4 separate regions of the Homo sapiens genome follow, and all the other regions are linked to region 4. Evidence: promoter capture Hi-C in 16 types of primary human blood cells and fetal thymus (Javierre and others, 2016). All regions are on one chromosome and are shown on one strand. Each heading gives the region's core, a stretch centred on a gene start or on the middle of the fragment in contact. The rest is flanking DNA. Distances are from core to core; before and after follow the strand shown.

Region 1 (5,103 bases), core at 852-3,351, 1.1 Mb after region 4:
CACACACACACACACCCCTTCCGCCATTCCTGGTCTATTATTTTATAAATGAAGAACTTCAGAGCAAGTAGTGCATTCAAGCAAGCCTGCCTTGTCTGAGTACCAGTAGAAAAGGGATGTTTATGTGCTGATGACAGATGAATGATTAGGGCTCTTCTAGCTTGATTTTCAGGTCCCGAGATGGTGCCACTTCCTTATTTCCCCTTCTGCTGCTGCTCCGAGTCACTGCAGAGCTCTGGTCACGTGCACACTAAGTGAGGACACCTCAGCCAAACATTGGGCCCTAGGGACAGCAAAGTTGTAGCTACTGACTATTATAAAAGGCTATATTTCTTAATGATTAAGTAGAAGAATAAAAGAGATTAATAAGGGGGAGAAAAAGACTATTACTTCTATCTAATAGTTACTCAGTAAATGGTATTGAAAATTCATAGCACATTGATACAATACTGACTCTGGAGGGAAAATACAAAGCAGGCTTCCAAAGTATCCAAAATAAGGTAATTTTCATTTTCATTTCATATCTAGCAGAATCTGATATTTGCCAGGTCAGGGGTCTTTTCACTCAGGCCTTATTATGATATGGGATTAATAATGCTATCCCTGGGATAATCCTTCCACTTTCACCACCATCAAAAACACCACAATCCTCTGCTTGTCCCCAAACTGTCTGACTACACCAGCAAATAGACATGGCTAGAGGAAAACAAAACATTCTATTTTCATGTTGTTCAGGTGCCTGGAGTACATATCTGGCACATAGTAAATTAAATATCTGTTAACAAGTATTTGTTGTTAAGTTGTTCATTTGTTTTATAAAGACAGGTTCTTGTGAGCAAGAACTGTCACCCATACTGGAATGCAGTGATGCGATCACAGCTCATTGTAACCTTGAACTCCTTTGCTCAAATGATCCTTTTGCCTCAGCATCCTGGATAGCTAGGACTATAGGTGAGCACCACCATGCCCAGCTAATGCTTTTTATCTTTTGCAGAATCAAAGGTCCTTGTATGTTAGGCTGGTCTCAAACTCCTGGCCTCAAGCGATCCTCCTACCTTGGCGTTCTAAAGGGATTACTGGTATAAGCTACTGCACCTGGCCTATTTGTTGTTAAATGAAAACATAGTCTTCCTTAGGAGGTAAGATGAGTGACAAATTACTTGAAAACTTGGTCAGGTGTTTCATATTTATGTAAATTGGTGAGATTAAAGGATGGGACCCATGAATGAGCTTCGGGAGGGGGGTGTCCAAAGTTTTTTGTCTTGTTATTTTCTGTGTGTTTTTAATGAACTCCTCATGTGCTATGAATCAGAAATCTATAGGTTGTATATGTTTTTCTTACAGGATATTCTCTCCCACAAGTACCTTGATGTGCATGAGTGTTAGAATACTACTACATTGTAGAATGAGGTGGGAAGAAAGTGAGATCCTTTGATAAAACAGAAATCTTAAAGAACTGTAATAAGAATTGACATCAGGTACTCAGTCTCTCTCCCTCGATAGTTCTTTACCTCACTTTATAACCTAACAAGTGTGTGCTTTTAGCTTCATTAAACACAGTCCAAGAGTCAAAGGCAAAGCCTCATCACTTTGCCTTTCTTGTCATCCTAACCCAGTAACTCTTTTTTTCTCTCAAGCTGCACCCATTTCCATCATTTGACCTTCTATAATTCCCTCAACCATTCCTTCAAAGCTCAGTACTAATACCCTTTTCTCCCTTATTCCCACTTTTTTCAAAGTTCCCATCTTTTTCTCCTACCCTGAAAATTCCCCACCCCGTTTGTTCATCCCTCTTTATTTCATGCACTTATTCTTACTCACCCGATTTGACCTTTGTATTTGCTTTTCTTGTGGGGTTACCCATATTTTTTACTTTCTCTTTTCCATTTTTGTCACACCTCCTGCCAAAAAACAAACAAACAAACAAACAAACAAACAAAAAACCTTTTCTCCTAGAATCCCACTTCCTTGCTCTTCTCTCTAGGTTATTCTTACCTTTCTGCTCCTCTTGAATTATATAAAGCTTGACTTCTACATTCTTACTTAGAAAGAAAATGTAATGATTCTTAAATGTCTATTACTTGTGTCCTTGGATTTTACCCCAGAACTTTTTCAGCTTCATCTAGAGTTTTTATAGATCAATATTGGCATATAACAGGACCTCCTTGTTTCAAGCTTCTTCCCCTCACATATTCACTATAGTAAAGGAAACCACATAAGCTTTAGCAAATTGGAAGGGACAAAGCTGACAAAACCATAGAACACTCAACTTGCTCTTCTTCTTCTTATTTCCTCCTTCTGTATAACTTCTCTCTGGCAAATTGTGTCGTATTATATCAACTTGCATATGATTGATTCTCATATTATTTTTGATTATAAATAGTCACATATTAGTGACTATTATAAAAGGCGATATTTCTTAATGATTAAGTAGAAGAAAAAAGAGATTAATAAGGGGGAGAAAAAACTATTACTTCTATCTAATAGTTAGTAAATGGTATTGAAAATTCTTAGGACATATATATTCTTTATGTCCTTTTGTTTCTCTCTCCTCTCCTTCTAGGACTCCCATGGTACATATATTGGTATGTGAAAAAATAATGGCAGAAAATGTCCCAAACTGATGAAAATCTTAATCTACACATCAAAAAAGCTCAACAACTCCAAGTAGAATAAGCTGAAAGAGGTACACACCTACACATGTATTAGTCAAACTGTCAAAGATAAAAATGAATCCCAAAAGCAGCCAGCAAAAATGATTCATCACATACAAGGGATCTGCAATGAAATGAACAGCTGACATATGATCTGAAACTAAGAAGGCCAAAAAAGTTGGATGACATATTTAAAGTGCTAAAAGAAAAAGAATCTCACACAAAAATTCTATATTGAGCAAAATTTTCTTTCAGAAGTGAAGGGGAGTTTAAGACATTCTCAGATAAACAAAAACTGAGAAAATTTACTGCTAGCAGATCTCCCTCACAAGAAATAGTATAGGGAATTCTTCAGGCAAAATTAAACAACACTAGAGAGTAACTTGAATCCACACAAAGAAATAAAGAGCATAAGTAAAGTTAAGTACATGGTGAAATTGAGTTTGATATTGTCCAGTCTGAGGAACAAAAAGAAAAAAAAGCGTGAAGAAAAATAAACAGTTTAAGAGTCCTAGGGATCTGGTGAGAGGTAATTGAATCATGGGGTAGTTCTTCCATGCTATTGTCATGACAGTGATTAAGTTCTCATGAGATCTGATGGTTTTATAAGGGCTTCTCCCTTCACTCAGCTTTCATACTTCTCCATGCTGCCGCCATGTGAAGAAGGATGTGTTTGCTTTCCCTTCCACCATGATTGTAAGTTCCCTGAGGCCTCCCCAGCCATGTTGAACTGTGAGTCAATTAAACCTCTTTCCTTTACAAATTTCCCAGTCTCAGGTATGTCTTAACTAGCAGTGTTAGAACAGACTAATACAGTAAATTGGTACCACAGAGAGTGGGGTGCTGCTGTAAAGAAACCCAAAAATGTGGAAGTGACTTTGGATCTGGGCAGAGGTTGAAACAGTTTGGAGGCTCAGAAGCAGAAAGAAAAATGTGAAAATGTTTGGAGCTCCCTAGACTTGTTGAATGGCTTTGACCAAAATACTGATAGTGATATGGACAATAAAATGCAGGCTGAAGTGCTCTCAGATGGAGATGAGGAACTTTTTAGGAATGGGAATAAAGGTCACTCTTGCTAGGCAAAGAGACCGGCAGCATCTTTTGGTTCTGCCCTAGAGATCTGTGAAACGTTGAACTTGAGAGAGATGACTTAGAGTATCTGGTGAAAGAAATTCCTAAGTGGCAAAGCATTTAAGAGGATGCAGAGCATAAAAATTTGGAAAATTTGCAGCCTGATGATGTGATAGAAAAGAAAACCTCATTTTCTGGGGAGAAATTCAAGCCAGTAGTGGAAATTTGCATAATCACCAAGACAATGGGGAAAATGTCTCCAGAGCATATAAGAGACACAGCAGCCCCTCCCATCACAGGCCCGGAGGCCTAGGAGGGAAAAATGGTTTCATGGGCTGGGCCCCGGGCCCCCTTGCTCAATGCAGCCTCAGGACATGGTGCCCTGCACCCCAGCTGCTTCAGCTCTAGCTGTGGCTAAAAGGGGACAATGTACAGCTCAGGCCATTGTTTCAGAGGGCTCAAGCCCCAAGCCTTGGCACCTTATACATAGTGTTGGGCCTGTGGGTGCATAGAAGTCAAGAATTGAGGTTTGGGAACCTCTGCCTAGATTTCAGAGGATGTATGGAAATACTTGAATGTTTAGGCAGAAGTTTGCTGCAGAAGCAGAGCCCTCATGGAGAACTTTTGCTAGGGTAATGCAGAAGGGAAATGTAGGGTTAGAGCCCCCACAGAGACCCCACGGTGACACTGCCTGATGGAGCTGTGAGAAGAAGGCCACCATCCTCCAGACCACAGAATGGTAGATCCACTAACAGCTCACACCATGCACCTGGAAAAGCCACAGAAACTCAATGCCAGCCCAGGAAAGCAGCCTGGAAATGGGCTGTACCCTGAAAAGCCACAGGGGCAAAGCTGCCCAAGGCTGTGGGAGCCCACCTTGCATAAGTGTCCCCTGGATGTGAGACATAGAGTCAAAGGAGATCATTTTGGAACTTTAAGGTTTAATGACTGCCCTTTTGGATTTTGGATTTGCACAGGGGCTGTAGCCCCTTTGTTTTGGCCAATTTTTTTGAATGTGTGTATTTATGCAATGCCCTGTACCCCAATGTGTGTATTTACCCAATGCCTGTACCAAAACCAAGTAACTAACTTGCATTTGATTTTACAGGCTCCTAGATGGAAGGGATTTGCCTTGTCTCAGATGAGACTTTGGACTTGACCTTTTGAGTTAATGCTGGAATGAGTTAAGGCTTTGAGGGACTGTTGGAAAGATATGACGGTGTTTTGAAATGTGAGGACATGAGATCTGGGAGGGACCAGGAATGGAATAATATGGTTTGGATGTGTACTCACCCAAATCTCATCTTGAATTATAGTTCCCATAATCTCTGTATGTCATGGGAGGGCCCCAGTGGGAGGTAATCAAATCATGGGGTCA
Region 2 (4,873 bases), core at 90-2,589, 1.1 Mb before region 4:
AAAAACTATAAAGATGAATATAAAAATTATATTTAATCTTATCACCCAGAGATACCTAGCAGTAACATTTTGATGTATTTCCTTGTGGGCTTCTTCCCTATCTAGGTATACTATGGTCCCCTTCCCTATAGGATGACCCAATGCCAGCCAGTAGCCCTTGAAATTTAGATGCAAACATTATAAATGTTTACTGTTTACAGAAAAAAAAAAGTATTTTTTAAAAAAATACTTTATCATTATTTTCCCATTAACAAAAATTATTCCAGAAAGACATTTTACAGTCAAACTGTCATTCTCCCCTACTAGTGAACATAGATAAAATAATATTTCTATTTTTCATTCTTATAAGTAACACTGCAGTAAACAACCTTGTATATACATTTTTTTTAAACAGATCTTTTTTTTTTAGGATAGCTTTACAAGTCAGAGGATCTCTAGTTTCCTCATCTATATAGTTTCCTCATTCATGAAATGGAGGATTAAAATAATAACTGCTTCCTGGAGTCATTAGGGAGATTAAATGAGATGATGTTTATAAATTGCTTTATTTAGTGCTTGGCACATAGTGGGTACATAGTAAAATTTAATTTTATTATTGCTTAAACCTTTTAACGTCTTAACACATATTACCAACTACATTTGCCAAACAACTTTGAAACTCTCCTTAGCTCATTTCACTGCATCCCCACTGAATCCAACTGTTTAAAAATTGTTTCATTTAGTCAGCCATCATAAGAAAATTATTAATGGATAAAAGATTCAAAATGGCAGAATCAAGTGTGAATCAAGACCATTTGGAAAGTTAACATAGAACCAAGACTTTCATTATAGCACTGACTTATCTCAACAGTCTCATGAATACAAAAATATGACCACTGAGGTAAGGCTGAATTGACCCTGATTGAATGGAGATCCGGCTACCTTCTTTGGTTCTGACTCTCCTAGTCACATATTTCTCATACCACTTCTCACAGCTTCCAAATGGGTGGGCTGAATGAGGTTTGTGGTTAACAGGGCCACAACTTTTTAAAAAACCATTCTCTGGGCAGCTTTTTCTACCTTCCATATCCTGTGTCCCAAACAACACAGTTTTTGTTTTTGTTTTTGAATTCCCTTTAGTGCCAGCTCTCTCAGCTACATCTAACATTTAATGAACACATACTATCGAAGTGTTTTACTTATTTAATTGTTATATCATCTCTATGAGATAGACACCTTTTTATACCTATAGACAGCTTAAGAACTGTCCAGGGTCATATGGTTCACAGTGGTGGTGCCAGCATTCACAATCAGGCAGTCTGGCTCTCAGCCACTCAGATGCCTATCAATCTAACAATCCAACTCTTAATGTAGGTACTTCATGTAAAAGTTCACATTTATTATGGAGAATAATTCTTACTGGAACAAAAAGTAAGGCATCTACTGTTAGAGTGGCATTAGTACAGGCATATTCTTGGTGACTGATGTTCTCAGATAATTATGCTGACAGCCATTGGTTCAGGAAAGGTATCAACAAAGACATAACAGAGTTTAGAGGTATAAAGAAAGTATGTCACACATGCTATTTAGAAATGACCCAAACCTTTCTCAAAGGCTTATGTTTTCCATGGTCTCCAATTAACAGACTGTCCCTGCCACTTGTCCATTCCTCAAGAACAAAGTCAAGAACAAAGCAAGTTTGTGGGGGCGGTGATGAGGGCAAATCGGTCTTTGCCCTGAGGAAGTCATCACAGTCTCATTTCTAAGGATTACCTGATCCAAGTCATTCCGTAGAGCAATTTTGCTTGTTACTAGTTCATGGGCAAGGTCATCATTCTCTTGTTCCAACCTCATGCTGGCCTCCTGTAATCTTCGGTTCTCCCTCTGCAGAAGAACAATAGCCAGAGGTGGGCATTAGTGTCTGGACATACAGAAACGAACAGAACTGGTGAGGAAAAACAAGCAACAAAGTGAACTTTCAAAGGTGTAAAAAGGAGAAGGCGCAAGTGGCACAGGAAGGCAGGATTGCTGTCTGGGAAACAACAGTGAGTTTAGCTAGCAATGCAGATGCGGTTCTCTACCCGGTGAAACTGGTCCCTTAAACTCTCAAGATGGAACTTCATTATAAAAAATGTGCCACAAAGAACAAACTTTCTGAGCATATCCCCCCCAATCCTGTGAGGTTTTTACATAGATCTAGAACACAGACACAAACAATTCTTTATTTGAAACATGCACGGTAGTCTCACCCTTGACCTCAAGAGAAACCACAAGACACAGTAGGAATGAAACAGGGGAAAACCACCAGACATTTCTTCAAATTGTTTTTCTAAGACAGGGTTCATATTGAGTATATTTAAGAGCTCTAAATCAAGAATCATGACACATGGGTTCATGACTTTGCTAACAGCTGACATTTTTATTCTTTGAGTAAGAATATATTTACTTTTCTGAACACCTATTTTTGTGTGAGAGCAACAGTCATAAGATATCTAGTTTTTTTGTTTTTTAAAAAATTTCAGATTAAAACATTCTGGGTAAAATAAATTACTGAGGATTTCTGCTCCCAACCTTGAAAAATCTGAAACAAAGTTACATGATAAAAAAACAAACAAAAAAACGAAACAAACAAACAAACAAAAAGAAAGAAAAAAAAAAAACCAAGTCACTAATTCTTATGAAGCAAGGCCTTTCCTTAACTAAACACTATGAACTTGGTATGTTCACAACTATTTTCAGAATAGCTATTTCATGTCTTCCATTCCAAAGTATCAAAATTGCTTTCTTTGCTACTGTTAACAGTTATAGGAGATTCAAAAGAGAGCTGACAGGAAAGACTAATGTCATGAGACCTTCCTGTTTTTCAGATTTACACGTCTAACAGTGTTTTCTGCAAAGGTGGCAAAAACTCAGACAAAGCAGTGACAAAAAACTAGAAGACAAATATATGTTTTGGAAGATAGTTTATCATAGCATACCAGGTAATGTGAAGTTAATTGTATCTTCTATATAACAACCTGGTGTTTGTTATATTGAAAGAGAAGACAATTTCTTTCTTTTTCCTGTTTTTTAAAACAAGGGCTAAGAAACACATGGTAAGGGCAAAGTCTGAGGCTTTCACAGAGGCAGAGGATCCATAAACAGGGAAGGCTGTCAGAGAAGTTAAAGGACAAAACCGCACCTTGATTATACCAGCCACCAGGGCCCATTTCTGTCTTTTTTTTTTTTTTTGGAAAAAAATAAGAATAGTTGGAGAATGTTAAAACATTATTGAAAAACATATCGACTAAAAAAGATAAAAACAATCCCAAATCACTTTAATACTTTAAATAAATTCACAATAGAATTCTACTCAGTGTTAAAATACTGGAGAAGGCTGGGTGCAGTGGCTCATGACTGTAATCTCAATACTTTGGGAGCCTGAGACCGGAGGATTGCTTGAGCCCAGGAATTCAAGACCAGCCTCAGCAACATGGCAATACCCCATCTCTACAAAAAAATTTTTAAAAATTAGCTGGGTACAGCTGGGCACAGTGGCTCATGTCTGTAATCCCAGCACTTTGGGTGGCTGAGGTGGGTGGACCACTTGAGGTCAGTTCAAGACCAGCCTGGCCAACATGGTGAAACCTCATCTCCACTAAAACAAAACACAAAAATTAGATGGGTGTGGTGATACACACCTGTAATCTCAGCTACTCGGGAGGCTGAGGCAGGAGAATTGCTTGAACCTGAAAGGCAGAGCTTGCAGTGAGCCAGAATTGCACCACTGCACTTCAGCCTAGGTGACAGAGTTAGTGAGACTCCATCTCAAAAAAAAAAAAAAAAAAAAATTAGCTGGGTGGTGTGGTGTGCACACATGATCCCAGCTACTGGGGAGGCTGAGGTTGGAGAATCACTTGAACCCAGGAAGTCAAGGCTGCAGTGAACTATGATCATGCCACTGCACTCTAGCCTGGGTGACAGAGTGAGAACCTGTGTCAAAAAAAAAAAAAAGAAAGAAAGAAAATATAATAACAGGAAATGCTTACGCTGCCTTCCTTGTAGGGGGGAAAAAAACCCCAATAAATAATTGGAGAATCTCATTGTAACAATATAAACAACCAATATTAACTGTAGGTAGTGAATTTTCTTTATTGTTGTCCTTGTTCTTTTAAAAATGTTTTCAAGTTTTCTACAATGAATATATATTTGTAATAGGATTTAAAAAATAGTTTTATTAAGAAAAAAAGGAATTCAGAATTTTAATTCCATTGGAAGGGATAAGATGCCAAAATGAGAAAAAAAAATTTAAGTCCACTTCTGTTAGAAGGTCATATTCTACACAAAACCATATTGGATCCTCCTTTTTGACCAAGATATAATGTAACCCCTCAGAAGTGGTGCCTTGTGAGGAACTCTTTCCCTAGATGTTCCTGAGAAGACTGTGAATGCTCTTGTAGAGGCAACTTGTACTCATCAGATTCTGTCTGTTCCCCTCAATCTACAGAAGTTACACCCTCCCACAGAAGCATAATAAATGTGGAGACTAAAAAACAAATTTCTAAAAAGCCAGAGCTTCTACAATGAAATCTTTGAATCTTTGCCTAAGCAACACAATTTCTAGCAGGGGCTGGAGAGTTAGCCTTTATTTCTGATATATCTATTACTCCTTTTCATGGAAAAAAAACATATAGGAAACTTAGATTAAAAAAAAAGATTTGAGAAGCTTTTTCAATAAATTTCCTCCCAGCCAGGAAAGAGTAACAATACCAGCACAATTTCAACATGACATATTTCACAATGCAGGCTGCTTAGCCAGGGAAGAGATTTTTCTCATTTCTTGATAAATATCTTCAAGAAACTAAGATAAGACTACTTCAATAGGTATTCCTGAGTTAAGTATCCTATTGCTATT
Region 3 (5,163 bases), core at 1,943-4,442, 1.3 Mb after region 4:
TTCAAAGTTAATCCCTTGTACAGAAATATAGTGCCAGCCACTCAATTAGCGCAGTATGGTTAAAGTTATCAGTGAAAATTGTAGTTTTTGAATATTACTTCCTGGATATCTGAAAAAATTTACTGAAATCCTGTAAGTATTGAGAAACTTGTGGGAAATGGGTGAATAATGTGGAAGCCATTTTGGTCAAACACTGGTAATAAAACAAGACCAAAAGATCACCAGGCCTCTAGTGCCTTTGCTTAAGCAACCTAGTTTCTCTCCATCACAATGTTTTATTAAAAGACAGATATTCTTCTAAACCACGTATCAGTCTGGAGCTCTTTTAAGGTTGCTTCTCTTCTGCTTGGTCTATCTGCTAATAGGTAAGAGCATACTGGGCCTCTTTCTCCTTGCAGTTTTTATTCTATTTGGCTGCATCAACAGTCCATAGTCAAATCACGTGCAATTGTACAGCTTAGCTGAGAAAGTTCTATGTTCTAGTGCCTGTTTCTAATTAAACCTTTGCATTTCAGTAGTTCTGACTTTTAACTTCACTCTGATGTAGGATTGGGTCTTAAATTTTCTTAGCTTAATATTCCACATATCAAATTCTATTAGAAAATTGTTTCACTAAACTGGCCCATAATTTCATTGATCCAACATAGAGAAGCACTTAGTAAACAAATGTGATATGTTCTGTTTTTATATCCTACCATTATAACCTACCATTAGAAATTCAGCCAATACAATTTGTCCTCTAAGATGCTGGAAATAATCATGCCCTATACTTGATAATAATATATTTTCAGAAATTGGGTACAGTGTATTTAGCCTCTAAAACACAAGTGACAGTAGTTTTGTTACCTTAATTTTCAATTAGAGACTACAAAAATAGTCCTCAAATAAATTACTACCAGGCCAACAGATCAGTCATGCTCAAACAAAGTCTCTATTAGGAAAAGCAGAAAATAAAGCTACAACAGTAAGTGTGGGTCAGACTGCAGGCATTTAAAAATTATCAAGGTTTAAAGTTTTATCCTTCAAGGAGCCTTTGAAAGATATTTCATCAGGGGACTGACATAATCAAAGCTGCATGTAAGACAAATCCAGTGGCACTGTGTAAAATGGGTTGCAGCATACAAGTATGAAGCTACTCTACATGTTAACTTTTTTTTTTTTATGTACTCTTCTACATCTCCTGGCTACCAAACAAATGTGTGGAATTCATGCCTACCAGCTCTCCAAATATCTTCTATTATTCTCCACTCCCAAAAGCTATCAATCACTTCCCTCTTTTGAAAAGTTTCTCAGTTTTCAAGCTCTCCAAACTTATCTAAGACATTTTATATTGTTGACCACTTAAATGACTTCCTTAAATCTCTTTCCATCCATCCTTTCCAGTTTCCTCCTTTCTTTCAGAGCTTTACTATGCTTGGCACCTTTCTTTATTCTGTTTCAAAAGTCCAATGTTCTCTTTCAAAAATGATTCCCTCTATGACAGCGGTCCCCAACCTTTTGGCACCAGAGACCAGTTTCATGGAAGACTACTTTGCCATGGATGGGGTGGGGGGCCATTAGATTCTCATAAGGAGTACACAACCTAGATCCCTCGCGTGTGTGGTTCATAGTAGGGTTCATGCTCCTATGAGAATCTAATTCTGCTGCTAATCTGACAGGAGGTGGAGCTCAGGCAGTAATGCTCACTCACCTGCTGTTCACCTCCTGTTGTGAGGTCAGGGTCCTAACAGACCACGGAGCAGTACTGGTCCGCAGCCCAGGGGCTGGGGACCTCTGCTTTACGAGGATAACTCCAGCCAACTTTTTTTCTTTTTTTTTGAGACGGAGTTTCGCTCTTGTTGACCAGGCTGGAGTGCAATGGCACGATCTTGGTTCACCGCAACCTCCGTCTCCTAGGTTCAAGTGATTCTCCTGCCTCAGCCTCCCAAGTAGGTGGGATTACAGGCATGCGCTACCATGCCCGGCTAATTTTCTATTTTTTTTAGTAGAGACGGGGTTTCTCCATGTTGGTCAGGCTGGTCTCGAACTCCTGACCTCAGGTGATCCGCCTGCCTCGACCTCCCAAAGTGCTGGGATTACAGGCATAAGCCACCGTGCCTGGCACTCCAGGCCAAATTTTATCTGCATTCAAGTCTGCATTTTTAAGTGCCCATAAAATGTCTCCACTTGGATATTCCATTCACCTCCAACTAACAGCTCCTTCCCCTTCCAAGCCCTTTGCCAACTCTTCCACTTCTTTTTGACCACCACCAATTCTTCTAGTTGCCCAAGTTAAAACAAACAAGCAAACAAACAGAAAACAAACAAAAAATGCTTAACATTTCTTTTCTCATTGAACTTTATTTCACAGATTCATAATTTTAGGCCCTAGAATGTACTCTCAGTGACAGTGTGCTCCAAGAAAGCAGTTACTTTGTTTTGTCCACCAGAATCCTGTATAGGATACAGCACACTGAAGCCTAAGTAAATATCTCTTTGCATTGAGATGGACAACAGAAAGGGGATGTTGAACAGAGTTTGGTTAGAGGCAAACTAAAATCCAGTTATTTAGAATCCTAGCCTAATGCTGTTATCTGCTGCACTGCACTGCACTACTGCCAGCTTGCCAACCTTTCACAAAATTAAATCATTTACCTCCTCAAAAATCTCTATTTATTGTACCCTGTTCTTTATTTCTACTGCCAAGATGAAGTCCTTCTTATGACAAGCCTCAATTACTCCAAGGGCTTTTTAGCCCGGTCATCCCTTGGGATCCAGAAGGGGTTGGATCCAGGATCCGAAGATACCAAAATCTGAGAATGCTCCAGTCTCTTACATAAAATGGCATTTGCATATCACCTATGCATATCCTCCCATATAAATATCTAGAGGTGATTTAAAATATCTAGAGATGATTTAAAACATCTATGCATATCCTTCCATATAAGTATCTAGAGGTGATTTAAAATATCTAGAGGTGATTTAAAACATCTATGCATATCCTCCCATATAATATCTAGAGGTGATTTAAAACCTAACACTATGTAAATGCTATGTAAATAGCTGTTATACAACATTGTTTTTATTTGTATTTTTATTGTTGTATTGTTATTTTTATTGTTTTTAAAATATATTTTCAACCTGAGGTTGGTTGAATCTGTGGATGTGGAAAGCCAATTGTATTCACCCCTCTAAGTCTCCTTCCTCTAAAAACAAATCTAGCACAATTATGTCAAAATAATGTTCTCACAACACCACTTTTCTTGCTGAATCTTTATTATCTAATTCTTTGGACTGGTTTGCAAAATCTACCACAATCTCTGAAATCTCTCTCTTTCTCCTCAGGCTTTTCTGTTTACTACCACTCTTACCCATATCAACTAGATTATCTCTTCCATTCATAACTCTCTTTCTCCTTGACAATTAAGTGCCATCTACCCACTGCAAGCAGGCAGACAGACATACACATGCACACACAAAGAAATAGCCATTATTCATGTTATCAACACCAGTACATCTTATTTCAGCTCATGAAGCTCCTGTTTGCACAGAAGCAGAGTTTATAAACCACACATTTCCCTTAAACCCAAGTCAAGCCTTCCTTGAGAACTCTAGCCCTCATTTTCTCCTCTTAAGCACTTACTATGCAGTTCAGTTTTATGTGTTGTTTATTAACATTCAAATCAAGTATCTTAGAATGTTAGACATATAAAAAATAAACTGAGTTCACCTAATACAGTAATACAGACTTGAATGCATAAAAGAGTATCACAAACTTACTGACAAAATCTACAAGGTAAGAATCCTAGGTATGCGTATTTCTTTTAAAAGTTTCATGAACAATTCCAATGTCCATTCCTTCCTAGGCTAATACAGGCACCCACATTTTCAGATGAAAAAAACTGACACTTTGCCAGATAAAATTATTAACTAGAAAAAGTGAAGAAACTTGCCCAAGACCATCTACCAGCCAACTGGCAGCACAGCATACCGGTTAAGAGAACACAGGCTTAGAACCTGGCCTTCTTAGTTCTGGCTCTGTTGCTTCCTGGCTGTAAGAACTTGGGCAAGCTGTTAAGAACTTAACTTCTTTGTGCCCACCTTTCTTCATCTTTAAAATGGAGTGTCTGCCTTAAAACATCTATACAGAGAATAAAATAATTTAATGCATATTACACTGAATAGTATTTAGTACTTAGAAGAGAAATAATCACTCAATAAATGTTCATATTAACAATGAAAAGAAAGAACTACAACCAAGCTCTGACATAGTTTTATGCCTTTCACACTACACCACTATCTGTATTGTAACAAGCAGCTTATATACAGAGCTCAAGTCTCACAATTCTTCTGTATCCTTCATCACACCAAATACATTGTGAATAATCAAATAATATTTAAGTGGATTTATAAATTCCCATTTTTAACTCTGAAACCTAGGCCATCTTATTTCTACTCAACAAATTACCAAAGTAGCTAGAGTCAATGAATAACTCATACAGTAGTGCTTACTACGAGTGAGGCACTGTTCTTAGCCTTTACATGTTTTTTCTCCAGTAGATTACAAACGCTACATAATAATACAAAATTAGCTTAGTACCTATGAACCGTATTAATGTTACAGAATACTTTCTGATACAGCCAGGTGTCACTTTCATGTAAAATATAAAATAATTTTAACTAGCAATTAATTATAAAGTCCTAAAACCAAATCTTCTTTCAAAAAAACTTGCATTTATTAAACAAATTCATCCCAAAGGATTAACACTCTTATACTGCAAATATTCAAAAGCAATTTCCTATTCCCTTGTGACATGTACAATTTGACTTTTAAATTAGTCTAAAATATGGCCTTGAAAAACATAACATACAACTGGCACTAAAGTATAATCTAAAACATGTAGATAAGTTTCAAGAGATTTCATCTCTTTCCAGTTATGTATAAACTACTAAACAAAAGCATCACGTACATACAGGTGTTTCTATTTGAAGATGACTTGAGAATAATAAAGCACTTAAATTTTTATAAGTTTCCCTTTCATTATAAGCATAAGAATATTAATTATACATATTGATTCTTTTCTCCATTCAGACTGTTGAGAAAAGTGAAAGAGTGATGTACAAGTTCATGAACAAACGAAAAATGAAATAACCAATACTCAAAAGAGCTGATACCTTTTATTT
Region 4 (4,745 bases), core at 577-3,076:
GGAGGAAAGCTTTCTGAATAAATGCAATTCTACATAGCTTGATATCCCTCTTCTTAGTATTTTACTACCTGCTGCAAGAATTATGTTTATTATTTTATAAAAGGACTAATATCCCACATGAATGTAGGCTAATATTTCTAAGCTTAAGAATCAGAGCCCCCCCCACAAAAAGACTTTGGTTATAGGGCTGTGAAGCAAACTCTAGGAAAAATCCCACAGCTGTGCCAGGATTCAACCAAGATGCAGAGAATGTGAAGTTCAGTTGTCAAAATTAGGAAAGCTGGGTAAATCTGCCAAATTCGAAGTTGGCAATTCCGAGGTGGTGATGAATACTTCCATCCTGAAACTTAGTTCTCCAGATCCGATGAAAAAATACAGCATTTACCAAGTATGCCAACATTTTTCCATTAAAATATTTTTAAAAAATGGCTGAAACACTAAACCTGAAGCTGTATACAAGATAGTTGAAAGTACAGTTTCAACTACTGAAAATAGTTTGTATAAATCCGAACAGGAAGACATTTACTTAAGCCCAATGTGCGTTCACTTATCTATATATTACATAGTTACACCACACCTGAAACTTCAGGAACTTACTCTGCCAAGCTCACAGTACTGCCCCGCATTAACAACACACTTATTAAATAGGGAAGTGTATACACTGTTTTCAACAATCAACTTTAGCCAATCTGACCTTTTTCCAAAGCGTTATTGTTTGTTTTGAAACTTTTAATCCAATAAGAGCCTCTGTCGATGCCATCATGAATTCAGATGTGTTTATTTTGGAGCCTACACCAGCGCCTTTTTTGTTTGCTCTTTCCGGCAATTCCCCAGTGAGGAAGCCCCTGGAGGAAAGTCTTTCGCTACCGTCGGCACTGGAGGGGTGAGAGCTGTAAAAGGGAGAATTGGGAACGGCATGGGGTTGGCCACTCCAGCACTTGAGCAGCTTTCTTCTGCGTTAGGAAGCCTGGGGAGAGGGGAACTGGCTAAAGGGCAAAATGTCACTGAGGAACTTCGGAGAAGATGGGGACAAGGCGTCGGGCGGGGGAGCCAGCGCTCAGGTGAGAACTAGGAAGGGGGCGGCGCCCAGGGACCGGCTCCAGGCGGCGGCGGGCGGGGAGCTGCCAGGAGGTGGGTGTGCGTATCTGGGTGTGTCCCGGCTGCGGTGGGGGAGGGGGCCGCCCTTCCCGGGGTCCTGAGGGAGGGGCCCCGCGAGGGGGCGGGTCCGGCAGATCAGCCCGGCCGGGGGCCAAGGGGGTGGAAGGTCGCCCGGTGCCTGGAGGCGGGGTGAAGGAAAGTAGCTGAGCGCCCCAGGAGCGCGCTGCGGCGGAGGGCGGGCGAGGTGACCCCGGTGCAGGGAAGTGGCACTGGGGTGTGGGGCCCGAGTCCAGTCAAGGAGCAGCACCTACCTCCGGGGGTGGAAATGGGCCGGAATGGGCCGGAACACCGTCCCGGAAGTGAAATCCCCCACCCCCTCCCACGGAGCGGGCGACGTGCCGGAAGGAAATCACTCAGCCTTACACCGCCCCCCCTTCCCCCATCCCCAGAGCTTTCCTTGCCTCGCGCCCCCTCCCCTCTCTGCTCTTCCTCCTCAGTCGGGAGGAGGGCGGGAGCACGGCATCACGTGGACGGTCATGTCTCTGCCCACAATGGCGAGGAAGGGCGGGGAAAAGGGGCGGACTTAAGGGGTGGGAAGAAGGTGATACTGGATGAGAGGAAGATTGAGGGAGGTTAGGGGGAGGAGCCGAAGCGGACGCTGCCGGGAGCGTGCGTCGTGACGTCATCAAAAGAACTCTTATATACAGGAGCCCAGGCACCATACTGTCTTTTCGAGGTAGGAGTCGACTCCTGTGAGGTATGTTTTATCTTTGCGAATGTTGCGGGTTTTGGGGCGCTCCAGCCTTTGTCTGCTAAGGTCACCCTGAATTGACTGGGACTTCTAAGCCAGTCGCGCGCCTTTGCAGGGCCTACAAGTTGAGGATGGTGGGGGATTGCACATATGGTGCATGCGTGACCTAAGCTGCGACTATGTTAGAGTAGAACTGCGGAGAAGCCTCGGCTCTCGTGCCCTGCCTCTGATGAAGCCTGTGTTGGTAGGGACATCTGAGAGTAATGATGAATGCCAACCGCTCTGATGGTGGCACATGCCGAGTCACCCGAGTAAGCTATTGTTAAGGGCCGTGACCCGAGCCTCCATCAGCCGTCCGCTCTCATGAAAGGCTGTCGGTGGTAGTCCACGTGCTTAAGTGCCTGCATTCCGCAGTGTCACCAATATTTCCATTAGTGTTTCTTTTTTCTTTTTTGAGACCGAGCCTCGTTCTGTCACCCAGGCTGGAATGCAGTGGCTCGACATCGGTTAATGGCAACCTCCGCGTCCCGAGTTAAGCAGTTCTGCCTCAGCCTCCCAAGTAACTGGGACTACAGGCGCGCGCCACCATGCTAGGCTTTTATATTTTTAGTAGAGACGGGGTTTCACCATGTTGGCGAGACTGGTCTTGAACTCCTGACCTCAGGTGATCCACCAGCCGTGGTCCCCCAACATACTGGGATTACAAGCCGTGAGCCACCGCGCCCGGCCGCCATCGGTGGTTCTTAACTGCGGGTGCAGTGCTTCTTTGTAACATTAAGTGTATCCTTTACCTGTCGCTAGATAATGAATGGTATGTTACCTGCATCATTGGTTTAAAAAGACGAACCGTTTTTTTAAAGAACACTCTTTAAAAAAAAGAACCGTGGAACAATGAATTAAAATCTGTACCTGATCTCTTTAGGTATGGTGCTGGGTGCAGATGCAGTGTGGCTCTGGATAGCACCTTATGGACAGGTAAGAATTGGGGAAAGTATGGTGGGAAGAATGAAATCTAAGAGGTGGTCTCAGCCTGTGATGCTTTAAGAGTAGTGGACAGAAGGGATTTCTGAAATTCTATTCTGAGGCTTTAATGTTAACAGCATTTATATTTAACGTGACTGCTGTGAGGTTCATTCTCACTGTTTTGCTTGCATCTTTTTGTTTTCTAGTTGTGTCCCCAAGGAAGGATGAGAATAGCTACTGAAGTAAGTTGAAAATTCCCTCTCAAAAAGGTTTAAAGCCATTGGATGTGCCACAATGATGACAGTTTATTTGCTACTCTTGAGTGCTAGAATGATGAGGATCTTAACCACCATTATCTTAACTGAGGCACCCAAAATGGTGAGTTGGGGAACATAGAGAGTACACCTAAGTTCACATGAAGTTGTTTCTTCCCAGGTCCTAAAGAGCAAGCCTAACTCAAGCCATTGGCACACAGGTGAGACACCTCTATTTTGTACTTCTCACTTTTAAGGGATTAGAAAATAGCCAAAGCAATGATGATTATCTATGTTAGTGCTTCTCTCCCCTCTTTTCAAATGAGAATTTTGCTCTCATATTGATACTAAGTTTAATACTGAAGAAAATGTGAAAACAGATACTATGATGGTTGCATAGTTCAGCAGATTTAATCATGAAGAGATGTACTATCTGTCTGATGTATCTGGGGTAGTTGTGGTTTGCTGTTAATGGTTAAGCAGTGTACCACCAATCTACCATTAAAATATTTTTTGCTGACAATTTTGTATTAAAATTACAGGCATTAGACAGAAAGCTGGAAGTTGAAATGGTAAGTGAAACTGTATCCAAGTAAGCAGGTAACTGGGCAAACTTCCTACGGCACAAATGGCTTTTTAGTTACCTCCTAGTGCTGAATGCATTAAATAAATGGCGGATTCTTGTCTTGTTATGATTAATAAGAAAGTTTGTAAATGCAGCCTGGATGATGATAAGCAAATGCTGACTGAACATGAAGGTCTTAATTAGCTCTAACTGACTAAAGGCATTTGTTAGTTTTGGCAGGGGGTGAACACTCATCTGTGGCTATTCTAAGACCACTCTTATTTCTTAGGTGGAGTCCAACTTGCCTGGACCAGCTTAATGGTTCTGGTAAGTATTAATGAAAACAGTAGATAGACTTAATGAAAATGCTGATGGTGATATGCTTACTGCTGAGCTAATGGCTTAAGGCTTGGCTGATGAATACTGACTGTATTTTCCTTGAGCATGTCTGGAACAGTGTTTATGTGTTTTCCTTGAGCATGTTTGGAACGGGGTTTGTGTAATGATGTTGATCAAATGTCTGACCTGAAATGAGCATGTAGACAAAGGTAACACTGAAGAACCCTGTGACAGACAACTTTGAAAAGAGTTTAATGATGTTTAGCATTTTAATGGAAGTCCTCATTTGTATTCCAGCTCCTGGTAACGTTTTTATCCATGGATGACTTGCTTGGGTAAGGACATGAAGACAGTTCCTGTCATACCTTTTAAAGGTACATGTTTTATTGATGTTAACGTTAATTGATTGAGCTACTGTTAGTGATGATTTTAAAATTAAAGCAGATGGGAATCTCTCTGAGAAAGAAAATGGAGATTAATCTTAAACTGAAACAGTAGTTGGGAAATCTTTTAGAAATCCACCTATTACTACCTATTGGTAAAGGAGATTAAATTTCTACAGGTATGGAGAGTCGGCTTGACTACACTGTGTGGAGCAAGTTTTAAAGAAGCAAAGGTATAGCAGTTCCAAGTATTTTTTTTTTTTTTTTAGACAAGAGTCTAGCTCTTGCCCAGAATGGAGTGCAGCGGCACTATCAGTTCACTGCAACCTCTGCCTCCCAGGTTCAAGGAATTCTCCTGCCTCAGCCTCTTGAGTAGCTGGGATTACAGGCAT

What was found. The method cuts DNA at HindIII sites, captures the fragments that hold promoters and counts their contacts. A CHiCAGO score of 5 or more calls a contact.
Region 1: a fragment that was not itself captured here is called in contact with the fragment with the promoter of GAS5 in region 4 in 2 of 17 cell types (total B cells and naive B cells); the score reaches 7.5 in total B cells.
Region 2: a fragment that was not itself captured here is called in contact with the fragment with the promoter of GAS5 in region 4 in 1 of 17 cell types (neutrophils); the score reaches 7.6 in neutrophils.
Region 3: a contact is called between a fragment that was not itself captured here and the fragment with the promoter of GAS5 in region 4, in 1 of 17 cell types (activated CD4 T cells). The highest score is 5.8, in activated CD4 T cells.

What each region holds. Positions count from the first base shown.
Region 1 is chr1:172,813,589-172,818,691 of GRCh38, reverse strand. LOC107985225 (a long non-coding RNA gene) reads left to right here and starts at 995. Exons shown (of 3, transcript XR_001738297.2): 1 at 995-1,139; 2 at 1,345-1,478; 3 at 2,564-3,134. The HindIII fragment of the contact is 152 bases long and covers 2,026-2,177 here.
Region 2 is chr1:174,966,267-174,971,139 of GRCh38, reverse strand. RABGAP1L (RAB GTPase activating protein 1 like) reads right to left here. Exons shown (of 26, transcript NM_001366446.1): 21 at 1,753-1,863. Among named protein-coding and RNA genes, the nearest start is that of RABGAP1L-AS1, 14 kb to the right of the region's middle. The HindIII fragment of the contact is 6,694 bases long and covers 1-4,686 here.
Region 3 is chr1:172,539,038-172,544,200 of GRCh38, reverse strand. The region is part of intron 1 of SUCO (SUN domain containing ossification factor); the gene reads right to left. Among named protein-coding and RNA genes, the nearest start is that of SUCO, 8.5 kb to the right of the region's middle. The HindIII fragment of the contact is 6,568 bases long and covers 1-5,163 here.
Region 4 is chr1:173,865,070-173,869,814 of GRCh38, reverse strand. GAS5 (growth arrest specific 5) reads left to right here and starts at 1,826. Exons shown (of 12, transcript NR_002578.4): 1 at 1,826-1,855; 2 at 2,772-2,824; 3 at 3,019-3,054; 4 at 3,248-3,287; 5 at 3,609-3,638; 6 at 3,921-3,958; 7 at 4,268-4,344; 8 at 4,533-4,586. ZBTB37 (zinc finger and BTB domain containing 37) reads right to left here and starts at 1,435. Exons shown (of 5, transcript NM_001122770.3): 1 at 1,410-1,435; 2 at 695-890. It overlaps SNORD75 (small nucleolar RNA, C/D box 75), which reads left to right and starts at 2,877; the gene lies at 2,877-2,936. It overlaps SNORD74 (small nucleolar RNA, C/D box 74), which reads left to right and starts at 2,070; the gene lies at 2,070-2,141. It also overlaps SNORD79, SNORD78, SNORD44, SNORA103, SNORD77 and SNORD76. RefSeq lists an enhancer at 157-1,356 and a silencer at 991-1,400. The HindIII fragment of the contact is 5,638 bases long and covers 145-4,745 here.